Regions from separate parts of the Homo sapiens genome. Here region 2 is linked to region 1. The links are contacts of gene promoters, found by promoter capture Hi-C in human tissues and cell types (Jung and others, 2019). All regions are on one chromosome and are shown on one strand. Each heading gives the region's core, a stretch centred on a gene start or on the middle of the fragment in contact. The rest is flanking DNA. Distances are from core to core; before and after follow the strand shown.

Region 1 (6,131 bases), core at 2,794-5,293:
CAGTTTGTGCTTCGGTTTCTCTGTAAGCTGAGGTGATTAGTTCCTGTCCAGAAACGTCACAGAGTGGTTAGGGCCAAATAAAATTCCGAGGGGGGCCAGGCGCAGTGGCTCACGCCTGTAATCCCAGCACTTTGGGAGGCCGAGGCAGGTGGATCACTTGAGGTCAGGAGTTCGAGACCAGCCTGGCCAAACCAACATGGTGAAACCCTGTGTCTACTAAAACTACAAAATTAGCTGGACGTGGTGGTGCACACCTGAAATCCCAGCTACTCAGGAATCTGAGGCAGGAGAATCGCTTGAACCCAGGAGGAAGAGGTTGCGGTGAGCCGAGATCGTGCCACTGCACTCCAGCCTGGGCAACAGAACGAGACTCCGTCAAAAAAAAGAAAAAAAAAATCCAAGGGGGGTTAATACCAGCTACTTGGTAGGCTGAGGCAGGAGAATCGCTTGAACTGGAAGGTGGAGGTTACAATGAGCCGAGATCGCACCACTGCACTCTAGCCTGGGCGACAGAGTGAGATTCCATCTTAATGAATAAGTAAATAAGTAATAAAATTCCTAAGGGGAGGCTTGGTGTGGTGGCTCATGCCTGTAATCCCAGCACTTTTGGAGGCTGAGGCGGGTGGAGCACTTGAGGTCAGGAGTTCAAAACCAGCCTGGCCAACATGGTGAAACCCTGCCTCTACTAAAATAGAAAAATTAGGTGGGCATGGTGGTGAACACCTGTAATCCCAGCTAGTCGAAAGGCTGAGGCAGGAGAATCGCTTGAACCCGGGAGGTGGAGGTTGCAGTGAGCCGAGATTGCAGCACTGCACTCTAGCCTGGGCAACAGAGTGAAACTCTGTCTCGAAATAAAATAAAATTCCAAGGGGGAAGGCATCAGACGTAGTAAAGTGTGAAGCAGCATGTAAATGATTCATTAATGTTTGGGAAGTTTCCTGAAAGACATTTGGTACTTTCCTTAAACCTGTTGATAGGTGGTGGGGTTCCCCTTTGTGCCTCTAAGCAGTTTTTAGGAATTAGCAAGGAGTTCAAAGTAGAATTTGAGAAAGGCTGTTGTAGGATAGCAGGAAGGCAAGATGGGGTGGGAGATCCTGTAATAGCTAAGATCTCTTTGCCTCTAGCATAGTGCTGAAGAAGGAGGGTTTAGGAGTCAGAGCCAGCTCTGAAGCCTGATTTGTTAATTACTAGTTGTAAGACCTCGGACAACTCAATTAACTTCCTGCACCTTTATTTTCTTATCTTTAACATGGATACAATTTAATGCTTTCCTGTGGTTCATCACCTGTGGTTCAGTTGCATGGTCTCCTCTCTACAGTGGCCTTCCCTGACTATAGCATCTGAAGTGACCCCTCCCAGCCCGTTGTATCAAATGGGCTTGCCTTAGTCATAGCACTTATCAGTATCTGAAATGACGTTACTTTTTCTGCTTATAGATTTAGTATGTTTCTCTCTTAACAATATAAGCCCTTTGAGGACAGGTACTTTGTCTGACTGTATTCACTGTGCTGTAAGGGTGCATTGTACAGAAGAATGCTCATAATGCCGGGTGCTGTGGTTCATGCCTATAATCCCAGCACTTTGGGAGGGAGGCTGAGGCAGGAGGATCACTTGAGCCCAGGAGTTCAAGACCAGCCTGGGCAACATAGTGAGATCCACGTCTCTACAAAAAAATGTAAAAATTAGCTGGGCGTGTTGGTGCACACCTGTGGTCCTAGCTACTCCGGAGGATGAGGTGGGAGGATCACTTGAGCCTGGGAGGTCCAGGATGCAGTGAGCTTTGATTATGCCACTGCACTCCAGCCTATGTCACAGGGTGAGACTCTGTCTCACAAAAAAAAAAAAAAGCTGGATAATAATATATATATTTTTAGTTTTTATGGGTACACTGTAGGTGTTTATATTTATGGGGTACATGAGATATTTTGATAACAGGCATGCAATGCATCATAATCACATCAGGGTAAATGGGTGTCCATGACCTCAAGCATTTATCCTTTCTTTGTGTTACAAGCACTCCAATTATACTCCTTTAGTTATTTTAAAATGTACAATACATTGTTGTGGACTGTAGTCACCCTGCTGTGCTCCCAAATACTAGATCTTATTCATTCTAACTCTATTTTTGTACCCACTAACCAGAATGTTCGGTATTTGTTAATGAACATGTTATGACAGGATGTTTTAGAAGAAAATAAAGAAAAAAAGAAATTCCAGCCAAGCATGGTGGCTTGATTTTATTTATTTATTTATTTTGAGATGAAGTCTCCCTCTGTCTCCCAGGCTGGAATGCAGTGGCGTGATCTCCACTCACCGCAACCTCTGCCTTCTGAGTTACATGGCTCACGCCTGTAATCCCAGCACTTTGGGAGACTGAGGTGTATTGCTTGAGGTCAGGAGTTCGAGACCAGCCTGGCCAACACAGTGAAACCGTGTCTCTACTAAAAATACAAAAAATTAGCTGGGCGTAATGGTGGGCGCCTGTAATCCCAGCTACTAGGGAGACTAAGACAAGAAAATCGCTTGAATCTGGGAGGCAGAGGTTGCAGTGAGCCGAGATCGCACCATTGCACGCCAGCCTGGGCAACAAGAGGGAAACTCTGTCTCGAAAAGAAAAAAATTATTTTTTAATTTTAATTTGTTAGTGAACAATTAGGGTTGCTGTGAGAATTGTGCCTGGCACACACAGCCATTTAAAAATCACGATCTTCAGGCAGTGTGTGGTGGCTCACGCCTGTAATCCCAGGACTTTGGGAGGCCGAGGTGGGTGGATCACCTGAGGACAGGGATTCGAGAGCAGCCTGGCCAACATGGTGAAACCCCGTCTCTACTAAAAATATAAAAATTAGCCGGGTGTGGTGATGCGGGCCTGTGATCCCAGCTACTCGGGAGGCTGAAGCAGGAGAATTGCTTGAACTCAGAAGGCAGAGGTTGCAGTGAGTGGAGATCACGCCACTGCATTCCAGCCTGGGAGACAGAGGGAGATTTCATCTCAAAATAAATAAATAAACAAAATCAAGATCATTTAACAAATACATATATTGTACTTACTAAGTTCAAATTTCTGTTCTAAACGTTTTTACAAATGCTGTTAAGTCATTTAGTCCTCTGCATAATGTCGTTTGTTTGTTTGTCTGTTCTTTAAGACGGAGTCTTGCCCTGTCGCCTAGGCTAGAGTGCAGTGGTGTGATCTCGGCTCACTGCAACCGCCACCTCCCGGTTTCCCGTGATTCTCCTGCCTCAGCCTCCTGAGTAGCTGGGATTACAGGTGCGTGCCACCACATCCGGCTAATTTTTTGTATCTTTAGTAGAGACGGGGTTTCACCATGTGCCAGGCTGGTCTTGAACTCCTGACCTCGTGATCCACCCGCCTTGGCCTCCCAAAGTGCTGGGATTACAGGCGTGACCACCGCGCCAGACCCATAATGGCGTTTTATAGATGGGGAAACGGAGTCATAGAGGCTAAACAACTTTCCCAAGACCACACAGTTAGTAAGGGGCAGGACTAGGACTCAAAGCCAAGTTTATGACCAAATTCTGGTGCACTACGTTCTCCTGCTTCTGGAGAAGATAATGATGCTGAAGATTCTACTTTTGGTGTAAAGGAGTAGGAAGGGCACGGGGCACTGCTAGCTTCAGTGGGCCTGAATCTTTGTCTTTCCTTCTGATTTGGAGAAAGTGCAAGAATGGGAAAATGCAATCGAAGTGAAGGAGAGGCCGGCGTATTTTCCTGAAATGCGCGGCCCGCAAGCCCAAACCCGTTTCCCGGGTGTCCAGGCAGCGTTCTGCAGCATCTCCAATGCCCGCCAGCCCGCCGCAGCCCAGCGCCCGGCAGCCGGCGCCTCTCAAACCCCCTCCGGCCAGGAGCCTTCGCCGCTTGGCCGCGCCGCGCCCGGCCTGGGAAAAAAGTTTCCAAACGACGCTGCTCTGCGCTGATTGGCCGAGGCGGACGCGGTACCGTAGAGCAGCAGCCAATGGGAGGCGCCGACCGCAGGCTCCGGGGCGGGGGCGGGGTCCGGAGGGCCGGGGCCGCACCGCCCTTCGCAGCCGCCTCTGCCGCCGCCGCCGCGTTGGCCTCGCCGCCCCTGCTCGGGTAAGTGAGGCGCTGCGCGGGGCTGGGGTCGGGGTGGCTGTCCGGGGACCTCCACCGCGGCTGAAAAGCTCCTCTGCCCCGCCCCAGGATCCCGGGACCCCGGGCCACCGCCTGGCAGGGACCCCTACGCCCCTCGCTTGCGCGTCGCTTCCCGGCCGCCTGGACTCCCCCGGTCCCTGGGCTCCAAAATCCCGCCTCCCTGGAGCCTCCCGTCCTAAAAAGTTAGGCACTGAGTGCCTTGCCACCGGTGCGTTCCTCGCGCTGGCCCCTCGCCCTTGGCAACTTTGTTTCTCTTTCTGCGTTGGTCTCTCTCCCACCCCGTTGCCCTCTTCTCCTTCCGGGACTTCCTGGGTGGTTAAGCCTTGCCGGTCCCCAAACCCCGCTGCCAGGCTCCATCCTCTTTCTCCTCTTCCTTCCTCCCCATACTCCTCTCCTAGATGACCCTCGTTTCTTTTCTCTCTCTCTCCTATTCCTCCATCCTGCCACCCGCTTCTCTGCGACCCCAGACCCCTCGATTGCAGCGTTGCCCCTGCCCTCACACCCACTGTCCCGCCCCTGCAGGCCTCTTTCCAAAAACCCACCCTGCTCCCTCCCTCCGGGAACACGTTTGGGGCAGTCTGCTCTCCGCTTTGCTCCCGTCTCTGCCGCAGGACGGTTCAGGTTTCTTCTGACAGCACTTTGGGGAGGGATTGGGTAAAGGACGAAAATGCTTATTCCGCAGCTTGAGTGATGGCTGGGCTCACTGAGGACCTGAGTCTCTGAGGTCCTGGGAAACCCCGCTGTCACCTTGACACCGCTTTTGGGGAGGCGACTTTATCTTCTCCGAGCCATCTCAGGCTTTCTGCCTCCTGAGGGCCTGAGCTTCCTTGATTGCTTTGTCCGTGGTTACTACCAGGTTGTGCCTCTTAATTTCTACTTTGAGCCTCAGGCCCCTTTTAACTTTCTAAAGAAAAGGCCTTTGCAGCACGACCTAGGCAGGTTCATCATTTTTAGTTTTGTTATAGTGTATTCTAGCATAGGATGGCATTTTAGGACATGGGTCGGGTGTTTTGAAGATTAATTAGATCCCAGCTACTCCTAAAGCCTCTTGTTACCCGACCACCCCAGCCTCCATCACCTCGTTGGTATACAACCCGTTTTTTTTTTTTTTTTTTTGTTTTTGTTTTTGAGACAGAGTCTCACTCTCGCCCAGGTTGGAGTGCAGTGGTGCGATTTTGGCTCACTGCAACCTCCGCTTCCCGGGTTCAAGCGATTCTCCTGCCTCAGCCTCCGGAGTAGCTGGGACTACAGGTGCGTGCCACCACGCCTGGCTAATTTTTTGTATTTTTAGTAGAGATGGGGTTTCACCGTGTTAGCCAGGATGGTCTCGATTTCCTGACCTCGTGATCTGCCCCCTCGGCCTCCCAAAGTGCTGGGATTACAGGCGTGAGCCACCGTGCCGGCCTACAACCCATTTTGAGCCTTTCCTCTTAGTGTGTGTTTTGTGTAGGATTAAATGCAGATGATCTGTGCCGCTGAAGTCTCAGGGGCCTGTGATTCATATATTTTATCCCATGTTGGATAACAGTTTATTAACTTGACTTATTTTTGTTTCCAAAGTGTGTTATTTATTATTTATTTATTTATTTATTTTGAGACGGAGTCTTGTTCTTGTCCAGGCTGGAGTGCAGTGGCATGATCTCGACTCACTGCAACCTCAGTCCTCCGGGTTCAAGTGATTCTTCTGCCTCACCCTCCTGAGTAGCTGGGATTACAGGTGCGTGCCACCATGCCCGGCTAATTCTTAGTAGAGATGGGGTTTCACCATATTGGCCAGGCTGGTCTCAAACTTCTGACCTCGTGATCTGCCCACCTCAGCCTCCCAAAGTGTTGGGATTACAGGCATGAGCCACTGCACCCGACTCTATCATTATTATTATTTTTTATGTAGAGGCAGAATCTTGCTTTGTTGCCCAGGCTGGTCTCAAATTCCTGGGCTCAAGCAGTCCTCCTGCCTTGGCCTCCCACAGTGCTGAGATTACTTGCAGGCATGAGCCAC
Region 2 (6,558 bases), core at 300-2,799, 660 kb before region 1:
TTTAAAATTATACTTTAATTTTTAGGGTACGTGTGCACAACATGCAGGTTTGTTACATATGTATACATGTGCCATGTTGGTGTGCCGCACCCATTAACTCTTCATTTAACATTAGTTATATCTCCTAATGCTATCCCTCCTCCCTCCCCCCACCCCACAACAAGCAGCAGTGTATGATGTTCCCCTTCCTGTGTCCATGTATTCTCATTGTTCATTTCCCACCTATGAGTGAGAACACGCGGTGTTTGGTGTTTTGTCCTTGAGATAGTTTGCTGAGAATGATGGTTTCAAACTTCATCCATGTCCCTACAAAGGACATGAACTCACCATTTTTTATGGCTGCATAGTATTCCATGGTGTATATGTGCCACATTTTCTTAATCCAGTCTATCATTGATGGACATTTGGGTTGGTTCCAAGTCTTTGCTATTGTGAATAGTGCCACAATAAACATACGTGTGCATGTGTCTTTATAGCGGCATGATTTATAATCCTTTGGGTATATACCCAGTAATGGGATGGCTGGATCAAATGGTATTTGTAGTTCTAGATCCCTGAGGAATCGCCACACTGACTTCCACAATGGTTGAACTAGTTTAGAGTCCCGCCAACAGTGTAAAAGTGTTCCTATTTCTCCACATCCTCTCCAGCACCTGTTGTTTCCTGACTTTTTAATGATTGCCATTCTAACTGGTGTGAGATGGTATCTCATTGTGGTTTTGATTTGCATTTCTCTGATGGCCAGTGGTGATGAGCATTTTTTCATGTGTCTTTTGGCTGCATAAATGTCTTCTTTTGAGAAGTGTCTGTTCATATCCTTCGCCCACTTTTTGATGGGGTTGTTTTTTTCTTGTAAATTTGTTTGAGTTCATTGTAGATTCTGGATATTAGCCCTTTGTCAGGTGAGTAGACTGCAAAAATTTTCTCCCATTCTGTAGATTGCCTGTTCACTCTGATGGTAGTTTCTTTTGCTTTGCAGAAGCTCTTTAGTTTAATTAGATCCCATTTGTCAGTTTTGGCTTTTGTTGCCATTGCTTTTGGTGGTTTATACATGAAGTCCTTGCCCATGCCTGTGTCCTGAATGGTATTGCCTAGGTTTTCTTCTAGGGTTTTTATGGTTTTAGGTCTAACATTTAAGTCTTTAATCCATCTTGAATTAATTTTTGTATAAGATGTAAGGAAGGGATCCAGTTTCAGCTTTCTACATATGGCTGGCCAGTTTTCCCAGCACCATTTATTAACAAGGGAATCCTTTCCCCATTTCTTGTTTTTGTCAGGTTTGCCAAAGATCAGATAGTTGTAGATATGCGGCATTATTTCTGAGGGCTCTATTGTGTTCCATTGGTCTATATCTCTGTATTGGTACCAGTACCATGCTGTTTTGGTTACTGTAGCCTTGTAGTATAGTTTGAAGTCAGGTAGCATGATGCCTCCGGCTTTGTTTTTCTGGCTTAGGAGTGACTTGGCAATGTGGGCTCTTTTTTGGTTCCATATGAACTTTAAAGTAGTTTTTTCCAATTCTGTGAAGAAAGTCATTGGTAGGTTGATGGGGATGGCATTGAATCTATAAATTACCTTGGGCAGTGTGGCCGTTTTCACGATATTGATTCTTCCTACCCATGAGTGTGGAATGTTCTTCCATTTGTTTGTATCCTCTTTTATTTCATTGAGCAGTGGTTTGTAGTTTTCCTTGAAGAGGTCGTTCACATCCCTTGTAAGTTGGATTCCTAGGTATTTTATTCTCTTTGAAGCAATTGTGAATGGGAGTTCACTCATGATTTGGCTCTCTGTTTGTCTGTTATTGGTGTATAAGAATGCTTGTGATTTTTGCACATTGATTCTGTATCCTGAGACTTTGCTGAAGTTGCCTATCAGTTTAAGGAGATTTTGGGCTGAGACGATGGGGTTTTCTAGATATACAATCATGTCATCTGCAAACAGGGACAATTTGACTTCCTCTTTTCCTAATTGAATACCCTTTATTTCCTTCTCCTGCCTCATTGCCCTGGCCAGAACTTCCCACACCGTGTTGAATAGGAGTGGTGAGAAGAGGGCATCCCTGTCTTGTGCCAGTTTTCAAAGGGAATGCTTCCAGTTTTTGCCCATTCAGTATGATATTGGCTGTGGGTTTGTCATAGATAGCTCTTATTATTTTGAGATATGGTCCGTCAATACCCAGTTTATTGAGAGTTTTTAGCATGAAGGGTTGTTGAATTTTGTCAAAGGCCGTTCTGCATGTATTGAGATAATCGTATGGTTTTTGTTGTTGGTTCTGTTTATATGCTGGATTACATTTATTGATTTGCGTATGTTGAACCAGCCTTGCATCCCAGGGATGAAGCCCACTTGATCATGCTGGATAAGCTTTTTCATGTGCTGCTGGATTCAGTTTGCCAGTGTTTTATTGAGGATTTTTGCATCGATGTTCATCAGGGATATTGGTCTAAAATTCTCTTTTTTTGTTGTGTCTCTGCCAGGCTTTGGTATCAGAATAATGTTGGCCTCATAAAATGAGTTAGGGAGGATTTCCTCTTTTTCTATTGATTGGAATAGTTTCAGAAGGAATGGTACCAGCTCCTCCTTTTACCTCTGGTAGAATTTGGCTGTGAATCCCTCTGGTCCCGGACCTTTTTTGGTTGGTAAGCTCTTAATTATTGCCACAATTTCAGAGCCTGTTATTGGTCTATTCAGAGATTCAACTTCTTCCTGGTTTAGTCTTGGGAGGGTGTATGTGTTGAGGAATGTATCCATTTCTTCTAGATTTTCTAGTGTATTTGCGTAGAGGTGTTTATAGTATTCTGTGATGGTAGTTTGTATTTCTGTGGGATTGGTGGTGATATCCCCTTTATCATTCAATGAAACTTTTTACAAATAAAAACTTTACTACTTTACTCAAAACCCTGTTATACAAAACAGAGCTGATCTGCTAGGGAGTTAGAAGCCCCAACTGCTTACCTAACCCTTCCTTCTCAGAGTCCTCCCAGGGACCTTAAAGCTCAGGAGAACACAGCTGGAAAATCCCTGGACTAGATCCCTTAGGTCCCTTCTAGAATGTAACAATTTCTGAATCTTATATTGATAAATGGAGTGGAATTTCTTAAAAACAATTTTGAGGAGGCAATGCAGTTTTAAATACGTACGTATTGTATGCCATGCTGTAACATATTGCTAGATACAGTGAGCAATAGGAAAAGGTAAACACAGCTCTTCCTTTAAGCAGCACACTTAGAAGAGTAAGAGGGGAACAAAAGAGCTATAACTTATATATGATATTATATGTATTATATGTAATATAATATATAATATATAATTTATTGTTATAACACAACTCATACTACATAGAGATTGAAGTCAACAAGAATTTTCTCCCTAAACATAACTACAGAGATTAAGAATAGAGAAAGGAAAAGGAAAGGAATGCGTATGTTTTAATTCTGCAAAAAGTTCGGGCACAGTGGCTCAGCCTGTAATCCCAGCAGAAGGATAACTTGAGCTCAGGAGTTTGAGATCAGCCTGTGCAGCATAATGAGACCTTGTATCTACAAAAAAATTTTGAAAATTAGCCAGGCATGGTGGCGAGCACTTGTATTCCCAGGTACTCAGGAGGCTGAGGTGGGAGGATCACTTGATCCCTGGAGGTCAAGGCTGCAGTGAGCCACGATCAAACCACTGTACCCCAGCCTGTGTAACAGAGCGACTGCCTCAAAAATAATATTTGTCAAAATAGCTTGTCTTTGTATCACTGCCACATTGCTTGTTTGAAACGAAGCTGACTCACTTTGTTATCATAAGTGATCTTACCAAAGACCAAGTTGTCCAGTTGCCTTGGAGTGTAGGTCATGCGTTGCCGGTACCCTGGGGCTGTGTACAATGGCCAGGCTGAGGGGACCTTGTGGTTACCCCCATGGGACTTGTAACTTGTCAAGTGGGAAGGTGGTACCAAGTGAAGAAGGGTAGGGTCCTTGGTTTTGGCCTCACCTGGTTCTTCCCAGAATGAATGGTGAAAAAATTATAATTCTGCAGAAAAATTTAAATTCTATTTTGTTTACTTTTTGGATGGGAGATAGGTGTACACATGGCACTAAAATTCAAAAGGAACTTAAGGAGGCCAGGCACGGTGGCTCACACCTGCAATCCCAGCACTTTGGGAAGCCAAGGCGGGCAGATCACTTGAGGTCAAGAGTTCGAGACTAGCATGGCCAACATGGTGAAACCCCCCCGTCTCTACTAAAAATACAAAAATTAGCTGGGCATGGTGGTGTGTGCCTGTAATCCCAGCTACTTGGGAGGCTGAGGCAAGAGAATCACTTGAACCCAGGAGGCAGAGGTTGCAGTGAGCAAGGTCATGCCATTGCACTCTAGTCTGGGCAACAGAGTAAGACTCCAACTCAAAAAATAAAAATAAAAACAGCGGCTTCCTCTAGGAAGTGGGGCTGGAAGATTTTTACTTTTTCTGTTATACTTTTGTACTATTGCAAGTTTTAAAATCATGTATTTCACAGTAAATCCAGAAGAAATTATGCACTTAATTTTTCTGGGTGAATTGTGTTATAGAGGTAATAGAGGATTATTAAAATTTCTTTCTTTTTTTTTTTGTTTCCCAGATAGCAGACCCCACGTTAGCTGAAATGGGAAAAAACTTGAAGGAGGCAGTGAAGATGCTGGAGGACAGTCAGAGGTGAGTAGGACAGAGGTGACCCTGTTCAACGAGTTCAGCCTGCTGTGAAGCCAGTGGCTCTGGGTCCTTTCTGTTAAAGGTGCCTCTTGGCTTCACAGTGTCACACACAGCTTTGGCTGACTTGAAAATTGGTATTTGTCTTGGGTAAAAGGTGCCTTGTAATTAAAGGATTTTGAAATTGAGAGGAAAGACTTATACTATTTAATTCTGTCTATTAAGAGTTTCATTTACTTAATATATTGATTTGACTCTATAAATACTTATTATATATTCAGGTCATATAGAGCACCAAGTAAACAAGAAGTGGGTGGAACTTTTTTGTTGCATATTCTTGTCTTTTCCAGAAATTCAAACGATACCTGAAACTGGAGGCAGGGAGATGTGATAAATGTGTTTGAAATCCTGCCTCAGTCACTGGGAGGTTATAGGCAACATGGTCATGTTTGCATATTCAGGAGTTAGAAATTTGGTATGATGAAACAAATGAACAGCTTTTTCTTTTCTTTAAATTAGAAGAACAGAAGAGGAAAATGGAAAGAAGCTCATATCCGGAGATATTCCAGGCCCACTCCAGGGCAGGTAGGTGGCACTGAGGATCCATACCTTTAGTTAAGGTGTAAATTTTTGTTTGTTTCTGAGATGGAGTCGTGCTCTGTTGCCCAGGATGGTGTGCAGTGGCACAATCTGGGCTCGCTGCAACCTCCGCCTCCCGGGTTCAAGCAGTTCTTTCTTGTGCCTCAGCCTCCCGAGTAGCTGGGATTACAGGCGTGCACCACCATATCTGGCTAATTTTTGTATTTTCAGTAGAGATGGGATTTTGCCATGTTGGCCAGGCTGGTTTCTAACTCCTGACCTTCACCTCAGGTGATCTGCCCACCTCAGCCTCCCAAAGTGCTGGGATTACAGGTGTGAGCCACTGTGCCCGGCCTACATTTTTCTTAAACCAGTGTCTTATCATCATTGATTTATGGTTTTAGTTTTAATGAACACATAGCAAATTTAAATAGACTTATGTGCAGTATAACATTAGAAAACTGAAGTGTCGTTGGCTGGTTGGTGATATTGCTGCACCTGCTGGCTTCTCTCCCTCTCCCATTTGGAATTTAATAGATGCTAAGTACAGTGGGTCACATCTGTAATCCCAGCACTTTGGGAGGCCAAGGACAGAGGATCACTTGAGCCCAGGAGTTCAAGGTTACAGCGATCTGTGATTGTACCACTGCACTCCAGCCTGAGTGATAGAGACACTCTCTAATTTTGAGACAGAGTCTCGCTCTGTCGCCAGGCTGAAGTGCAGTGGTGTGATCTCGGCTCACTGCAACCTCTGCCTCCCAGGTTCAAGTGATTCTCCTGCCTCAGCCTCCCGAGTGGCTGGGATTATAGGCACCCACCACCACGCCCAGCTAATTTTTGTATTTTTAGTAGAGACGGGGTTTCACCATGTTGGCCAGGACGGTCTCCATCTCCTGACCTCAGGTGATCCGCCTGCCTTAGCCTCTCAAAGTGCTGGGACTACAGGCATAAGCCACCGCACCTGGCCAAAAATTTTTTAGAAAACCAACAATTTAATACAACCTCATGAGTCAAAAGTGATACATGGAGCTAGGCACCGTGGTGCACACTTGTAGTCCCAGCTGCTTGGGAGCCTGAGGCAGGAGGATGGCTTGAGTCAAGGAGTTCGAGGCCACCCTGAACAACATGGCGAGACCCTATCAAATAAAATAAAAGTGATATACAAATTCATCATTATAACTGGTGTGTCATACTTAGTTCACTCTTGAAACCTGTCATCTATTTGGTAGACTGAGTTTTATTCTAAGAGGTATTTTAATTTGATAAGATTTATTGTTTTCATAATGTAAATGAAAGGAAAATGTCAA

The links. The method cuts DNA at HindIII sites, captures the fragments that hold promoters and counts their contacts. A contact is called where the count stands out against the background at its distance.
Region 2: a contact is called between a fragment that was not itself captured here and the fragment with the promoter of NDE1 in region 1, in 2 of the 25 tissues and cell types used here (bladder and heart left ventricle).

Annotation. Positions count from the first base shown.
Region 1 is chr16:15,646,202-15,652,332 of GRCh38, forward strand. NDE1 (nudE neurodevelopment protein 1) reads left to right here and starts at 4,044. Exons shown (of 9, transcript NM_017668.3): 1 at 4,044-4,093. RefSeq lists enhancers at 3,745-4,246, 4,247-4,746. The HindIII fragment of the contact is 16,587 bases long and covers 1-6,131 here.
Region 2 is chr16:14,993,149-14,999,706 of GRCh38, forward strand. PDXDC1 (pyridoxal dependent decarboxylase domain containing 1) reads left to right here. Exons shown (of 23, transcript NM_015027.4): 2 at 4,605-4,678; 3 at 5,192-5,257. Among named protein-coding and RNA genes, the nearest start is that of MIR1972-1, 14 kb to the right of the region's middle. The HindIII fragment of the contact is 6,885 bases long and covers 1-4,992 here.